Regions from separate parts of the Homo sapiens genome. Here regions 2 and 3 are each linked to region 1. Evidence: promoter capture Hi-C in 16 types of primary human blood cells and fetal thymus (Javierre and others, 2016). All regions are on one chromosome and are shown on one strand. Each heading gives the region's core, a stretch centred on a gene start or on the middle of the fragment in contact. The rest is flanking DNA. Distances are from core to core; before and after follow the strand shown. Region 1 holds the start of TNS1-AS1 (TNS1 antisense RNA 1). Region 2 overlaps TNS1 (tensin 1). Region 3 overlaps DIRC3 (disrupted in renal carcinoma 3).

Region 1 (4,295 bases), core at 1,673-4,172:
CCTGCTTGGCATCTGCCACTTGCTTTCAGTTTGCTAAGCTTTTGTCTTCTGGGCTGGGAGCTGGGGTGGGAGTGGTCTTCCCTCGTTCCCCTCTGTAGAGCTGCCAAGGACAAGCTTTCTGCATTCCAGTGTACAGGAAGCACTCAGCATAGCGTATTGCAATTACCTGATGATTTCTCCATTTGCCCCCCCACTTGAGGGCATTTGCTGAGTGTGTGCCCACTGTGTGACAGGCAGGGCTGCCCTGTACAGTCAGGCAGGCCATGCACTGCCAAGGGTGCCTACCCGAGAGAGCACAGGAGTCAGCCCACCCTTTGCCTACCAAGCCATGCATTTTGGCACAGGGCTGATCTGCCTGGAGAAAGGGCACCTTCTCACCATTTCCACAAAGACACTGTGCATGAGCCCAGCTGTGTGTCCCTGGGGCTGGTCTGCCCAGGGGATGGGCCTCCTTCTAGTTTGCACAAAGATGCTGTATGGTCTCATGGGCCTGAAGCAGACACTGTCCTAGCTGCTGGGGCTACAGTGCAAAGGAGACAGGCATGCTCCTTGCCCTCTGAGTGTAGTGTGGGGAGATAGATTAGAGAGAAGTTACCCAGGGCAACTTCAGAAAATAACCAGGAAATAACCGGTGTGCTGAAAAGGAATAATTGGAAAGCTACTCTAATTTGAGTGGTCAGGGGAGGCCTCTTTGAGGAGATGACTTTGGGTGGATTCCCAAAGGATAAGAGGGATTTGGTCCAGGGAACGATGGGGTGCTGGGGTGAGGGGGAGTGTACCAGGCAGCTGACACAGCAAGTGCCAAGGCCCTGAGGCACTCTGGGAACTGGCAGAGCAGGGAGCATGCTGGAGGGAGGTGGAGTCCCGGCCCCCATTGTGTCCCTCATGTCTAGACTGGGGTGGATGCTTAGAGATGCCTTTTTGGTTGAACATGAGATGTTGAGGTGGCGGTCTACAGCTCAGGAACGATCTGAGAGTCGGGGGGACATGACTAAATTGGGGTGCGCATAAACCACAGGGGATATCTTCAGACAGGTCCAACTCAGCAAACGTTTATTAAGCCTCTCCTGTGTACCAGGCTCCTCTCTCTCTCTCTCTCTCTCTCTCTCTCTCTCTCTCTCTGTGTGTGTGTAGGAGAGAGAGAGAGGCAGGTCCCCCTGGAAGGAGCCCACACTGTTGGACCAACAAAGGGGACGTTTCCTCTATTTGGATGGGGTGGGGCAAGGGAGGCTGCTGGTGTCCAAGAGGGAACACCTTTGCGAAGTGAGGGAGTTGCTACCCGGGCTGGTGGTGGTGCTGAGGGAGAGGGAGAAGCAGAAAGACCAGAGTGATGGGTAACGCTTGTGTGGCTGAGTGGGGAGTATGTCCTGCTGTGGCCAGGGTGGAGATGTCCCTGAGCTAGGCTGGGTGGCTGGTGGGGTCAGGAAAACCTTGCTCAGCACCGGTGAGTCACAGGCCTGGGCTGGGCCAGGACTAGGTTCTGAGAGAAGAAGATCCCATGTTAGGGCCAGTGGCCAAGGTCCCTTTCCAGGCACCACCCAGTGTGCTTCCCAGCTTCTCCCCCTTCCCCATGCCCAGCCCCTTCTGCCTCAGACAAATCAGAAGAAGCCTTAGTGTGGGGAACCCCGGAGCCTCCCTGGGCTGCTCCGGGCATTCATCTGTGCCTCAACCTCCCTTTCTGCAGTCTGCTGAGAATCAGGTTGGTTCAAAGCTGGAAGGGGGTGGGGTGCAATAGATCCAGGAGAAGGAGGTGGATGGCTGTGGTCCTGGGCTGTGGCTGTTGAGGATTTGGAGTCAGGGCACTCCCCTATCTCCCCCTCCCCAGTTCTCTAACCAGAGTTCCTAACCCCCCAGCCTTAGCAGGTCCTGGGCAGCCAACAAGACCCAAAGCAGTGCAAAACCCAACTCGGGAGACCCCTCGCCCACCCATGAGATCTGCAGGGAGGTCACCAAATCCCTTGGTGGAGTCCCAGAGCCCTGGGGGGTGGGGCGGCAGGGCTGGGGACATTCCAGGCTTCGGGAACCTTATAGGAAATTTGATTCCAGCTTCTGGTAATGGGAGGAAGAGCAAGTCCTGTGTGTGTGTGTGTGTGTGTGTGTCTGTGTGTTTCAAGTCATGCACATGAAGTTTATGTGAGCATCTGTTCACGTGTCTGTGTCCACAAATCTGTGTCAGGCTGCAACTGATGGTGTCCCACAAAATTGTGTGTGTTGGTGCCCTGAGTCAGGGCTCTTCCTGGATGAATCTGTGTGTGTGAGACTGTGTGTGTGTGCGTGGATGGCTGTGTGGATGGGTGGGAGTGGTTCTGGGTGAGTGTGTGGGTGTGGGTGTAATGTGTATATGCGTGGGCCCGCTCCTGGACTCTGAATTGTGTCTGTGTGTCTGTCTCTGGGGCAGAGTAAGTGTGATTGTGGTTTGCGATGTCGTCTGCCTGCCTGGTGTGTGTGTAAGGGGAGAAGGCCCCCCTTATTCCTTGGTGGGGCTGGCGTGGGGCCCGGGTCCGGGCTACCTCTGCCCCTGGCAGGGGTCCAGTGGGGGACCCCCCCCTTTGCTCCCCCCACCTTCCCGCACCCGGAGGGGCTCTGGCTCTGGGAGCCCCCTGCCTCCCCGGCCGCGGGTCCTCAGTCCCGGGCACTCCCGCCCCGCAGGCCCGGCAGCCGCTCCCCTCCGTCCCCTCCCTCTCTCCCTCTCTCCTTCCCTCCGTCCCTCCTTCCCTCCTTCCTTCCCGAGCGCGGATTGCGGGCTGGGGTGGGAGGAGATTTCGCGGAGTTTCCATTTCATACCTCGCGGCTAAAACTTTCTTTCTGTGTCTCGCCCTCTTGCAGTCTGCAGCTTCTCCTGTCATCGGAAATGCCAGGCCAAGGTAAGGGGCCGCGGGCTGGCGGGCCCGGGAGGACTTGGGACAGGCCTGGCTCGGGGTCCCAGATTGGAGCGGGGGCGCCGGCGGGGCGGGGGCGGTGCCCGGGGCGTCCCTCCTCCTCTCTTTGTTTATGCAAAGCGCCTGGGCCTGGGAGCGGGCGCAGGTCAAGGTGAAGGCGAAGGCCCGGGGGCGGGGGCAGGGGCGGGCTGGGGAATCGGGGGATCTGGGTGGGGGGCGCGGAGCGCAATCTGGGCGGTTACCGGGGGTGGCTGATGGGGACCGAGCTCCCAGAGAGCGGCCTTTGAAGGTGTTTCTGCTAGTTCTCAAGGGGGAGAGGGAAAGGGGGAGGGGATCCATTTCAATTACCCCGGGCCGCGCACAACCCCAGTTGGCTCAATTTGGCCAACCTAGAAAACCTCAGTGTCCACAGCCACAGGACCCCGAGGGCAGGAGAAGCGGGTGGGTGGGATAAATGGAGAATGAGGTCGGAGGTCAGGATTGGCTGGTCTGGAACCGCCTGAGAGACTGTCCCTTCCTCTTTATTGGCCAGGTCTTCTTTTGGTCCTCAATTTCCCCATGAGTATTTTCTGGCTGGTCTTGATGGGAAAGGGAAACTGAGGCAAGAAGACTGGAGGGATTGCTGGGCCCTGGTTGGCCAGGCTGGCTCAGCCCCTGATGTATCCACTGAGGTTTGGACACAGGAGTCATATATCAGCTTCTTGGAGTAACAGGGGGTGGGGGATTGGCACCAAGATGGATTATGAGTTTGGGAAGGAAATGGTTCTGTCCAATGGGCTCAGCTCTGCCTAGGGGTGGAAATGGCGTTCCTTGCCTTTCACTTGCAGCCAATGTCTGCACCTTCTGCCATTGTTGCTTGTAACCCTCCCTGCCCTTTCACTCCCTACGTTTGCTCTTCATATTTGACCTTTCAAGGAGTTCAGGGAGTAGAAGGAGAAGATGCTTCCAGAAGGAGCATTCATTGAGCAGTTGAGGACCTGTATCTGGTACATCTCATGTTTTGCTTCTTATTAGCTGGGTGGCCTTGGGCAAGTTATGTACCTCTCTGAGTTTCTGTTTCATTCTCAAGGATATGGGAATAAGAAGCCTACCTCATAAAGTTGTTGTGAGAATTCAATGAGGTAATGTATGTGAAGTGCCCAGCCCAGTGCCTGGCACAGGGTGGGTGCTCAAAAATGTCATGACTGATGCTCAGCTACTGGGAGCTTAGAGGGACAAGTGTTACCTTGGGGAAGGGGTGCTGACGGATCAAGCAGGTCTGGGAAGAATCTTCCTCCAAAGAAACTTTACTAAAGCCGAGCACACACCTTGCTGGAGGGCGTCTCCATCTGTAGACTCCAGCTTGGAATGCTCCCCTTGCAGAGATGCAGAGGGCCTGGCTTGCAGCAGGTACCTCCATGCAGTGGGTTTTCTGCC
Region 2 (4,337 bases), core at 1,433-3,932, 170 kb after region 1:
TCTCTGCCCAGGGAATCACTCTGACTGACAACCAGAGAAAGTAAGACTCCCCTGCCTGCTCCTCGGTGGGGTTCTCCTTCCTGTGACTCATCTATTCATCCGTGTACCCACACATTTACCACTTGATTGATTCCTTGCACCCAACTGCTCATCTACCTTCTCATCCATCTATCTTGCATCTACCTCCCATCTACCCAGCTACTTATCCATCCATCCATCCATGCACCCATCCATGCACCCATCCATGCACCCATCCATCCATCCATCCATCCATCCATGCACCTATCCATCCATCCATCCATCCATCCATCCATCCATCCATGCATCCATCCATGCACCTATCCATCCATCCATCCATGCATCCATCCATGCATCCATCCATCCATCCATCCATCCATCCATGCATCCATCCATCCATCCATCCATCCATCCATCCATCCATCCATGCATCCATCCATCCATCCATCCATCCATCCATCCATCCATGCATCCATCCATCCATCCATCCATCCATGCATCCATCCATCCATCCATCCATCCATCCATGCATCCATCCATGCACCTATCCATCCATCCATCCATGCATCCATCCATCCATCCATCCATCCATGCATCCATCCATCCATCCATCCATCCATCCATCCATGCATCCATCCATCCATCCATCCATCCATCCATCCATGCCTCCATCCCTGCATTTATTCATCCCTCATCTATCCCTTACCACCCGTTTTTCCCTTCATCCATCTGTATCTCCATTCATCTATCCATCCACCCATTCATCCATCCTTCTATGAGAATTTGCCAGCATTGGGTATACGGCTGTAAATACAACTGATAAAAAGGACCTGCTTTCTAGGAGCAGAGCCCGTCCACTTGGACTCTCTCCTAACAGTGTCCCTGGCCTCTTTGCTTCTTCTTCCAGCCCCTCCCCACATTTCCTATTCCTCAGTGCCAGTTTCTTCCTTCCCCAGCCCCTAGCATTTGGGATGATTCTATGGCACATCTGTCTCTGTACATTGCTTGGGTCACCAGTGTCAACAGCTCAGGCCATCTTGCTCATAAGAGAGAAGTTGTGTGGACCTGCGATAGCCACAGATGGTGGAAAGGTGGCCTGACCTGCTGGTGGAAGGAGGGGAAAAGCAGCCCCTTCAGCACTCATTCTCTGTTTATCTGATGTCTGTGCTGCAGGCTCTTTTTCAGACGCCACTACCCTCTCAACACTGTCACCTTCTGTGACCTGGATCCACAGGAAAGAAAGTAAGTCTCTTGTACACAGCTTCTCTCCCACACAGCTTTCTAACACTGACGTCTGTGTGGGTGCATGCATGTGCATGTGTGTGTGTGTGTGTGTGCATGTGCATACATTCTCCATTCAGCTGGAAGGTCTGCCCATGTGTGAGTAATCGTGTTGGGCATCTTTTGAGTCTTTCCCACTATAGATATGGAGACCCTCCCAGGGACTCAGTGCCCACTGCTACCCCCTCTGCCATGCCCTGACCTTGAATCTGCTTCTCCTCTCCATGATGGGGAGAGCCCCTCAGGAGGCAGGCTGCAGTGTTCTCTCGACCTTGAATGCATCTGTGTGATCTTGGGCAGCTCCTGTCCCTGGGGAATGGGGGAATGGGGGAATGAGGGGGGAATGGGGGGCAGCTCCTCTCCCCAGACCTTCCTGCAGAGGGTCTGGGCATGGGTGGGGCTGGGCTCTAGGGAGAAAGTACGATGATTTACCCTGAGCCCACTTTCTCTCCACAGGTGGATGAAAACAGAGGGTGGTGCCCCTGCTAAGTAAGTGTGACTTCTTACCCCTGCCCAGCAGGCTGGCCTTTGTACTTCACAGTGAGGGAAGCACGGGGCACATTTAGAAACCAGGGCTGGGGGTAGGGAAAGAGCAGCAAAAACCTTTGTGCCAAGGTCACTCAGCTTCCGAGTGAAGCTTGACCAGGCTTCCAGGCCTTTTGCCTTGTCCTGCCTCGAGGCCAGAGGCCCAGCGTCTGGTCCAGCTGCCTTCACTCTCCCAGGGTTAGAAGCAGCAGGGATGGCAGGAAGTGGACAGAAAACAGTCTTATTAGAAGCAATGGAAATGGGTCAGAGATTGCTTACATGATCTTTTCTGCCCCAATTCTAGCTGCCTTTATTTCTGCTCTTGCTTTTTTGGTGGGCTTTCCTGTGAGTCTTGTGGCCGAGCAAATCAGCCTTATCAGAATGTGGGAGCCCAGAAAGTCTGAATTCTGGGGATGGCCCTGGGACCTTCGGGTGGATTCCTCCATCCAGCAGACATGTCCTAGGGGCCTCCAAGGGACTCAGATCCTGCCTGGGTCTCTGACCCTGCCCTCAGGAGGCCCATTGGCACAGCAGATAAGACAGATGTCTAAATAGCACTAAGATGCTTCTGTGATTTTCAAACTGTATTCCAAGGATCCTAGCATCCTTGGATTGTACCTGATGTACAGAAGAGAGGGAAAGCTCTGCTGCTCCTTGCAGTTGTCTATCAGCAGTAACTAGGGTTTTTTCACAATCACAAAACCAAACAAAATATAGGCATAACCTGGGGTCTGAAGCTGACATGAGACTATCACCATGATCTGTCATCTACTTTTCACTTTGTCAGGATTATTCCAACAGCCCTATTATCCTCACTGATTGACTTTATAATAGGTAAATGTCGTGCTTTTGGATTGCTGTTTATAGCTGTAAAATACTGCTTTCACCTTTATATATGCAGACTTCATATAAGGTTGCTTTAGAAAAACAAAACGTTCAGTGTTAAAAAAATGACAGTTGCAAGGGAGGGAGAGGCAGCAAGAGAGTTCAGCTTACGTCTGGGGAGCTCATGCAGGAGAACACATCAGCACCTCAGAGAGGTGGAAAGAGCAGATATTTAAGGACGGGTCTTCAAAGACAGGTTCAATTTGGACAGGTCAAAATGAGAATGGGAGTAGGAGGGGCTATTTCAGGGGAGGGGCCTCATGGCCACCAGCCTGCAAGCTCCCCAAGGGAAGGGCCATGTCTGACACATGGGGAGGTGGTATATATTTGTTGAGTGAAGAAATGAGAGAATGGAGGCTGGAAGAGCAGAGGCAGGAGGAGGCTAGTGAGAATGCCTCAGTCCGAATGAATGGACTGACTAGTCTATCACATGGTCAGTGATGGTAGCTTAGGAGAGGCCATGTGGGATGGTGGGGTTCAGCCTTGTCCAGGCTTCATAGGGTCATCAGTGCTTTGAGTTCCTGCATTTCCCGTGTCTCTGCTGGCCAAGGCAGCAGGCTGGAACTTCCTGTTTGAAGGGGCTTGTGCTCACTCACCACAGGGCCCTGCGAGGGAAGAAGGTCAGGGACAGAAGGGAACTGGGCCCCCAAGCCTGGAAATCCCTCTTTTCCTCCTTCAGGAGCTGGTTTTGAGTTGAGCCTCCTGCTGAAGAAGCTTTGATGGGTGGGGCAGAGGCCACAGGGAGAGGCCAAGCAGGGCAGTGGGCTAACAGGGAATCATGACAGGGACGAGGTGAGGCCAGCCAGGGATCTCATGTGCAAAATTCAAGGAGATGTTAGATCTTGGGATCTTGCAAGCGCTTCCTCCTGCCCTTGCGGGCTGAGGCTTCTTGCCTGGATCTATTCCTTGTGGCAGATGACAGGACTGGGCTATTGCGGGAGCCTGGAAGCCACAGCTGAAAGAAATATCAGGGGAGGGCAGGCTCGGTGCTCCAGTCAGGTGCAGTTGCCGGGTCTCCATCCTGGTAGACACCCGCAGCCAGGGCTGGCATGCTTCCTCCCTCTGCCAGGATCACCCCCACCCCTGCTCATGGTCTGAGCCAGCTGGGAAAGGGAGGTGCTGGGGGATGCCCTGTGGACCCCAGCTCCCCCACCACCTGGGCATTACCCCAGGCCTTTGGCCCTGTTGCTCCTGGCCCCTGAAACAAGACTGGAGGAGCAGAGCTGTAGGAAATGCTGGATTATGTGTGTGTGTGTGTGTGTGTGTGTGGTGTGTGTATATGTTGTGTTTGCGTGTTGTGTGTGGTGTGTATATGTTGTGTATGTGTGTGGTCTGTATATGTATGTATGCATGGTTTGTGTGTGTGTGGTGTATGTGTGTGTGGTGGTGTGTGGTGTGTATGTGTGGTGGTATGTGTGGTGTGTGCAGTGGTGTGTGTGTGGTGTATGCATGTGGTGATGTGTGTGATGGTGTGTATGTGTGTGGTGATATGTGTGTTGTGTGTGTGTGATGTGTGTGGGTGTGATGGTGTGTATGTGTGTGGTGTGTGTGGTGTGTGGTGGTGTGTGTTGTGTGTGTGGTGTGTGTGGTGGTGTGTGTGGTGTGTGGTGGTGTGTGTGGTGTGTGTG
Region 3 (4,761 bases), core at 1,918-4,417, 210 kb after region 1:
AGGGGGAAATCTGCCCCCATGATCCAATCAACTCCCACGAGGTTCCTCCTTCAACATTGGGGATTATAATTTGACATGAGATTTGGGTGGGAATACAACCCAAACCATATCAGGTGGTGACTAGGTCATGAGGGTAGAGCCCTCATTAATGGGTTTAGCACCCTTACAAAAAGAGGCCCCAGAGAGCTACCTTGCCCCTTTCACCATGTGAGGACACAGGAAGAAGGCACTGTCTGTGAACCAAGAAGTGGGCCCTCCCCATACACTGAATCTACTGGTGCCTTGATCTTGAACTTCCTAGCCTCCAGAGCTGTGAGAAATAAATTTCTGTTGTTATAAGCTACCCAGTCTATGGTATTTCATTATAGCACACCCAACTGACCAAGACAGAGGAATTTATTAAGTAGATTTCAACATTATCAGGAGGACTGAAAAAAGAGACTCTAGGTTGAGATTTTAGAAACCATTTCAGAAATAGTCCCTGTGACTCTTCCGCAGTCAGGGAGCTGCTATCTCAAAAATCACAATGCCAATCTGTGAATAGGGAGTTATTTTGACGAGGAAGTCATCATGGCTACTGTCTCTGGAATCATGCAGAGCTGCTCTGAAATGACCAGCAGGATGGGTGCTCCAATCCCTGCCTCAGCAGTCCTGAAGCTTGTGGCTAGATACTTGGACCTCTGTTAATGTTGCCACAGAAAAGCCAGCAATTCCACAGGATGCCAGCAGGAAACAGCACAAGCAGTAGAAACGTCACCTCCACCTTTGCCTCACGTTAGACTTCAAAAACCTTGAATGAATCTAGTTGGCAGCATATAAATTACATCTAAAACTCTAGCTACAATGGAATCTGGAAAATGTAGTTCTTAGTTTTCTAGGTTCTTCCATTCAGAAAAGCATACTAGAGAGAAGATGGGATGGAGACTGAGTGTCAACCCACCATAATGATTAAACTCCATTCCTTGGACTAACCATATTCTTTTATCCATGCTTAAACTGACAAACAACATTGATAACAACAAAAACATTTTCCCTTTTAATATAATACAATACTCTCTTATAGAGAAAAAACAAACTCACTATCTTCCCCAAAACAGATGAGACACCTGAAGTCCCATCAGTAATTACAACTATCACTTGGTGATGAGCCTTCCCTCTCTAGTTTCTATATAATTCCAACTGATATTTTGTAGCTCATGGATTACATTATAAAGTTATCCACCAAAACACATTCTATGAAAATGGTGGGGAAATGGAAAAAAAAAAAAACAAACAGAAAAGTAATTTTGTTTTGTTTTTTAAAAATAACGCAGGTTAAGAGTATAGGTGGCTGTTACATTCCTCATTTCTCTAACTGGTCACGAGATTGTAGTAATCATTTTGGTATTTATCTGGTGAAGTGACCAAAAACTTTATTCCTGAGGGTTTTGAATACTGTCTCTATTGGGTCACTGTATGTTCTATTCATTTTGCTAATAACTGAAGATGCTCCAAAGGATCCTTTGGGTTCTTGACACATTTTCCCCTGCTGCCACCCAAGATATAGCAACCTTAGTCCCCCTTTGCCTTTATCTGTTGATTAGTGGCATAAAAAGAAACAGGTTCCTAGTTCTTTGTTTAGTGGAACCATTTTTAGTTACCTAGGGGAAGAATTTCTCTTTTGGGCACTTATGTCTTGATGTCAGCTGAGCCCAGTGAATGGGAAAAAAAGTTTATAAGGGACCATTAGGTTTAATAGTGAGGGGCACCTCTCCTATTTCTCTCCCTTAGTTACTGAATACACACATTTTCGGCTATGAGAGCAAAAGAACCATATTATTAGTCTCCAGTTCTGAGTATATACTGCATGCTGCAAATGACACCCAACTCTCATAAGGTGTTGAGTGAGTCCAAATTGGAGCTGTGATTGAGCCTTCAACAGGTTTGTTCACTGTTCTATTACTCCACCTGCTTTGGGATGATGAGGTTCCATGATAAGACAAGTGTATGCTGTAGAAATAAGCCTATCATCCATTGCTTTAAAATTATTTTTCCTGGACAGAAACAATGTTGCAAGGGATTGGGAGGGTAATTCAAGTATTCGGAAAGTCCATAGATGCTGCTTTTAGTCAAACTACAACAGGCAGAGAAGACAAATGCATATTCCAGGAAATGTCTATTCCAGCAAGGGTAAATTGCTTCCTCCTCCATGATGGAAGGTGTCTAATAGGGTGGCTACATACTGTACTGGGCACTCAGTATTGGTCTCTGCAGCTGAGTACTCAGCAATAGTGGAAGCTGGATCAAGCTTAAAGGGAAATCCAAGCCCTTGTGTAACCTCCATCCCTGCTATTGTGGCCACGTTGTTAGTGAGCCCATTGAGCAAATACTGGGGTGTCTGGGTAAAGAGGTCAATGGAGATCCATTGAATAGGCCATCTTGTCTACCTGATTATTGGCCGCATTTGCACTTGGTAAGTGTGGTAGGCAGAATAATGGCCACCCCAAAGACGTCCATGTCCTAATCTTTGGAACCTGTGAATGTGTTAACTTACATGGCAAAGGAACTTTGCAGATGTGATTGAGTTAAGGACCCTGAGATGGGAAGATTATCACAAGAGTCCTTGTAAGAGGCAGGTAGGAGAGTAAGAGTCAGAGAAGGAGATGCAATGTTAGAAGCCAAGGTCAGAATGATGCAAATGCTGGCTTTGAAGATGGAAGAGAGCCATGAACCAAGGAATGCAGATAGCCTTTAGTAAGCTGAAAAAGGTAAGTGTATCAATTTTCTCCTAGAGCCTCCAGAAAGAAATGCAGCCCTGCTGGCACCTTGATTTTAACTCAGTGTGACCATTTAGACTCTGACTTCCAGAACTGTAAGAGAATACATTTGTGTTGTTTTAGGCTATTAAATTTGTGGTGGCAGCAATAGGAAGTGAATATAGTAATCATTGTCTTATTTCTGACTTTAACATCAATAGCTTCTGTAGTTCTCTATTCAAAACATTTTATCATGTCAAGGAAATATCCACACATTTCTATTTTATTTGCTTTTAAATTTAAATATCAAGAATGAGTGCAGAATCTGATCAAATGCTCCCCCAGAATGTATGGAGATAATCACGTTTTATTGTTTCTTAACATAATAAACTGTATTAATGGATTTTAAGGAGTTATCCTGGTATTCCTAGAATAATCCCACTTGATCCCATTTTTAATTTTTTGTGCTGAAATTTAAAAATATCATCTTTGAGGTGTAAATAACACCCAATAAGTTGAATTCACTTAAAGGGCACACTATTTTGTCAGTTGTATATAGCCACGAAACTACGACCATAATCAAGAGGCAAAACTTTTCCATCCGCCCCAAAAGATTCCTTATGTCCCATTACAGTACACCCTTCCCTCTACTCCGAGTCCCAGGTAACCACTGATTCTATTCCTTTACATGCTTCATTTTTTAAAGATTTTATATAAATGGAGTAATACTAGATATATGTCTGTGTGTATGTCTATCTATCCATCCATCCATCCATCCATATATACATTTCTGCCTTCTTTTCCTCTGCCTGATTTTGAGATTCTTCCATGCTTTTGTGTTTATCAGTAGTTTGTTCTGTTTTCTTGCTGAGTAGTATTCCTTTGTATAAATATACTATATTTTTTGCTTATTCATTCAGTTAAATGATGGATATTTAAGTTGGTTCCAGTGTTTTGGCTATTAAGAATAAAACTTCTGTGAACGTTTACATACAGAGCTTATTGTGGACAAATGCGTGGATTTCTCATGGGTAAATACCTAGAAATGGGCTGGTGGGGTCATATGGTAGGTGTATGTTAAAATTTTAGTGAAAGGTAAAAGATTTATGCAATCTGAAGAAAAACCAGAGTATGCTGTTTAACTTAAAAAAAAAATCCTGTCACTTCTTGGAAGTGGTTGTATCATTTCTCATTTCCACCAACAATGCATGAAGGTTCCAGTTGCTCCATATCCTCACTAACATTTGGTATTGTCAGTCTTTTTAATTTTAAACATTCTGCTGAGTGTGTTAAGAATCTTATCACAAGCTTTGGGTTTTTCTGCCTATCTTACTTTTATTTGTTTCTAATTTAATTTGGTTGTGGTTAGAGAAATATTCTGTATGATTTTAATTCTTTTAAATTTATTGAGACTTGTTTTGTGCCCAGACTATGGTAAATCTCAGCAAACACATAGTGCACACTTGAAATAAATGTGTATTCTGCAGTTGTTAGGTAGTGTTTTGTAACTATTAGTTAGGTCAACATGGCGAATATTATTATTCAGATTCCTGAATAATACCATTATTTTTATAGATCTTTACTGATGTTTCTGTCTAGTTGCTCTATCGCTTGCTGAGAGAGAGGTGTTAAAAACCTATTGTGATTATGGAATTTTCTATTTCTCCTTTTAATCCTGTCAATTTTCGTTTCATGTATTTTGAGGCTCTGTTGATAGATCTATACTCATTTACGGTTATTAAGTCTCATTGATAAATTGATCCTTTTGTCACTATAAAATTTCCCTCTTCATTTTTTGGTACTATTCTATCTTGAATTCTATTTTATCAGATATTTATATACCTAATCTAGCTCTCTTATGGTTTGCATAATATATCTTTTTGCATTCATTTAATTTGAACTTATTCCTATCTTTATATTTAAAGTGTGTTGGGTTATGTTTTTTATTGTTTATTTTTAAATGCATTTCTCTAACCTCTGTGTTTCCATTTGGATGTTGAGACCGTTAATAATTAATATAATTATT

What was found. Contacts are between HindIII fragments. The CHiCAGO score rates a contact against its expected background, and 5 or more counts as called.
Region 2: a contact is called between a fragment that was not itself captured here and the fragment with the promoter of TNS1-AS1 in region 1, in 2 of 17 cell types (naive B cells and total B cells). The highest score is 5.8, in naive B cells.
Region 3: a fragment that was not itself captured here is called in contact with the fragment with the promoter of TNS1-AS1 in region 1 in 3 of 17 cell types (M2 macrophages, total B cells and naive B cells); the score reaches 7.2 in M2 macrophages.

Annotation. Positions count from the first base shown.
Region 1 is chr2:217,977,334-217,981,628 of GRCh38, reverse strand. It overlaps TNS1-AS1 (TNS1 antisense RNA 1), which reads right to left and starts at 2,922. Exons shown (of 4, transcript NR_135524.1): 1 at 2,785-2,922. It overlaps TNS1 (tensin 1), which reads left to right. Exons shown (of 33, transcript NM_001387777.1): 3 at 2,827-2,864. RefSeq lists an enhancer at 2,038-2,926. The HindIII fragment of the contact is 9,016 bases long and covers 117-4,295 here.
Region 2 is chr2:217,805,526-217,809,862 of GRCh38, reverse strand. It overlaps TNS1 (tensin 1), which reads left to right. Exons shown (of 33, transcript NM_001387777.1): 30 at 1-40; 31 at 1,192-1,260; 32 at 1,756-1,788. Among named protein-coding and RNA genes, the nearest start is that of DIRC3, 17 kb to the right of the region's middle. The HindIII fragment of the contact is 1,487 bases long and covers 1,939-3,425 here.
Region 3 is chr2:217,768,265-217,773,025 of GRCh38, reverse strand. All of the region lies in intron 2 of DIRC3 (disrupted in renal carcinoma 3), which reads left to right. Among named protein-coding and RNA genes, the nearest start is that of DIRC3, 20 kb to the left of the region's middle. The HindIII fragment of the contact is 1,756 bases long and covers 2,290-4,045 here.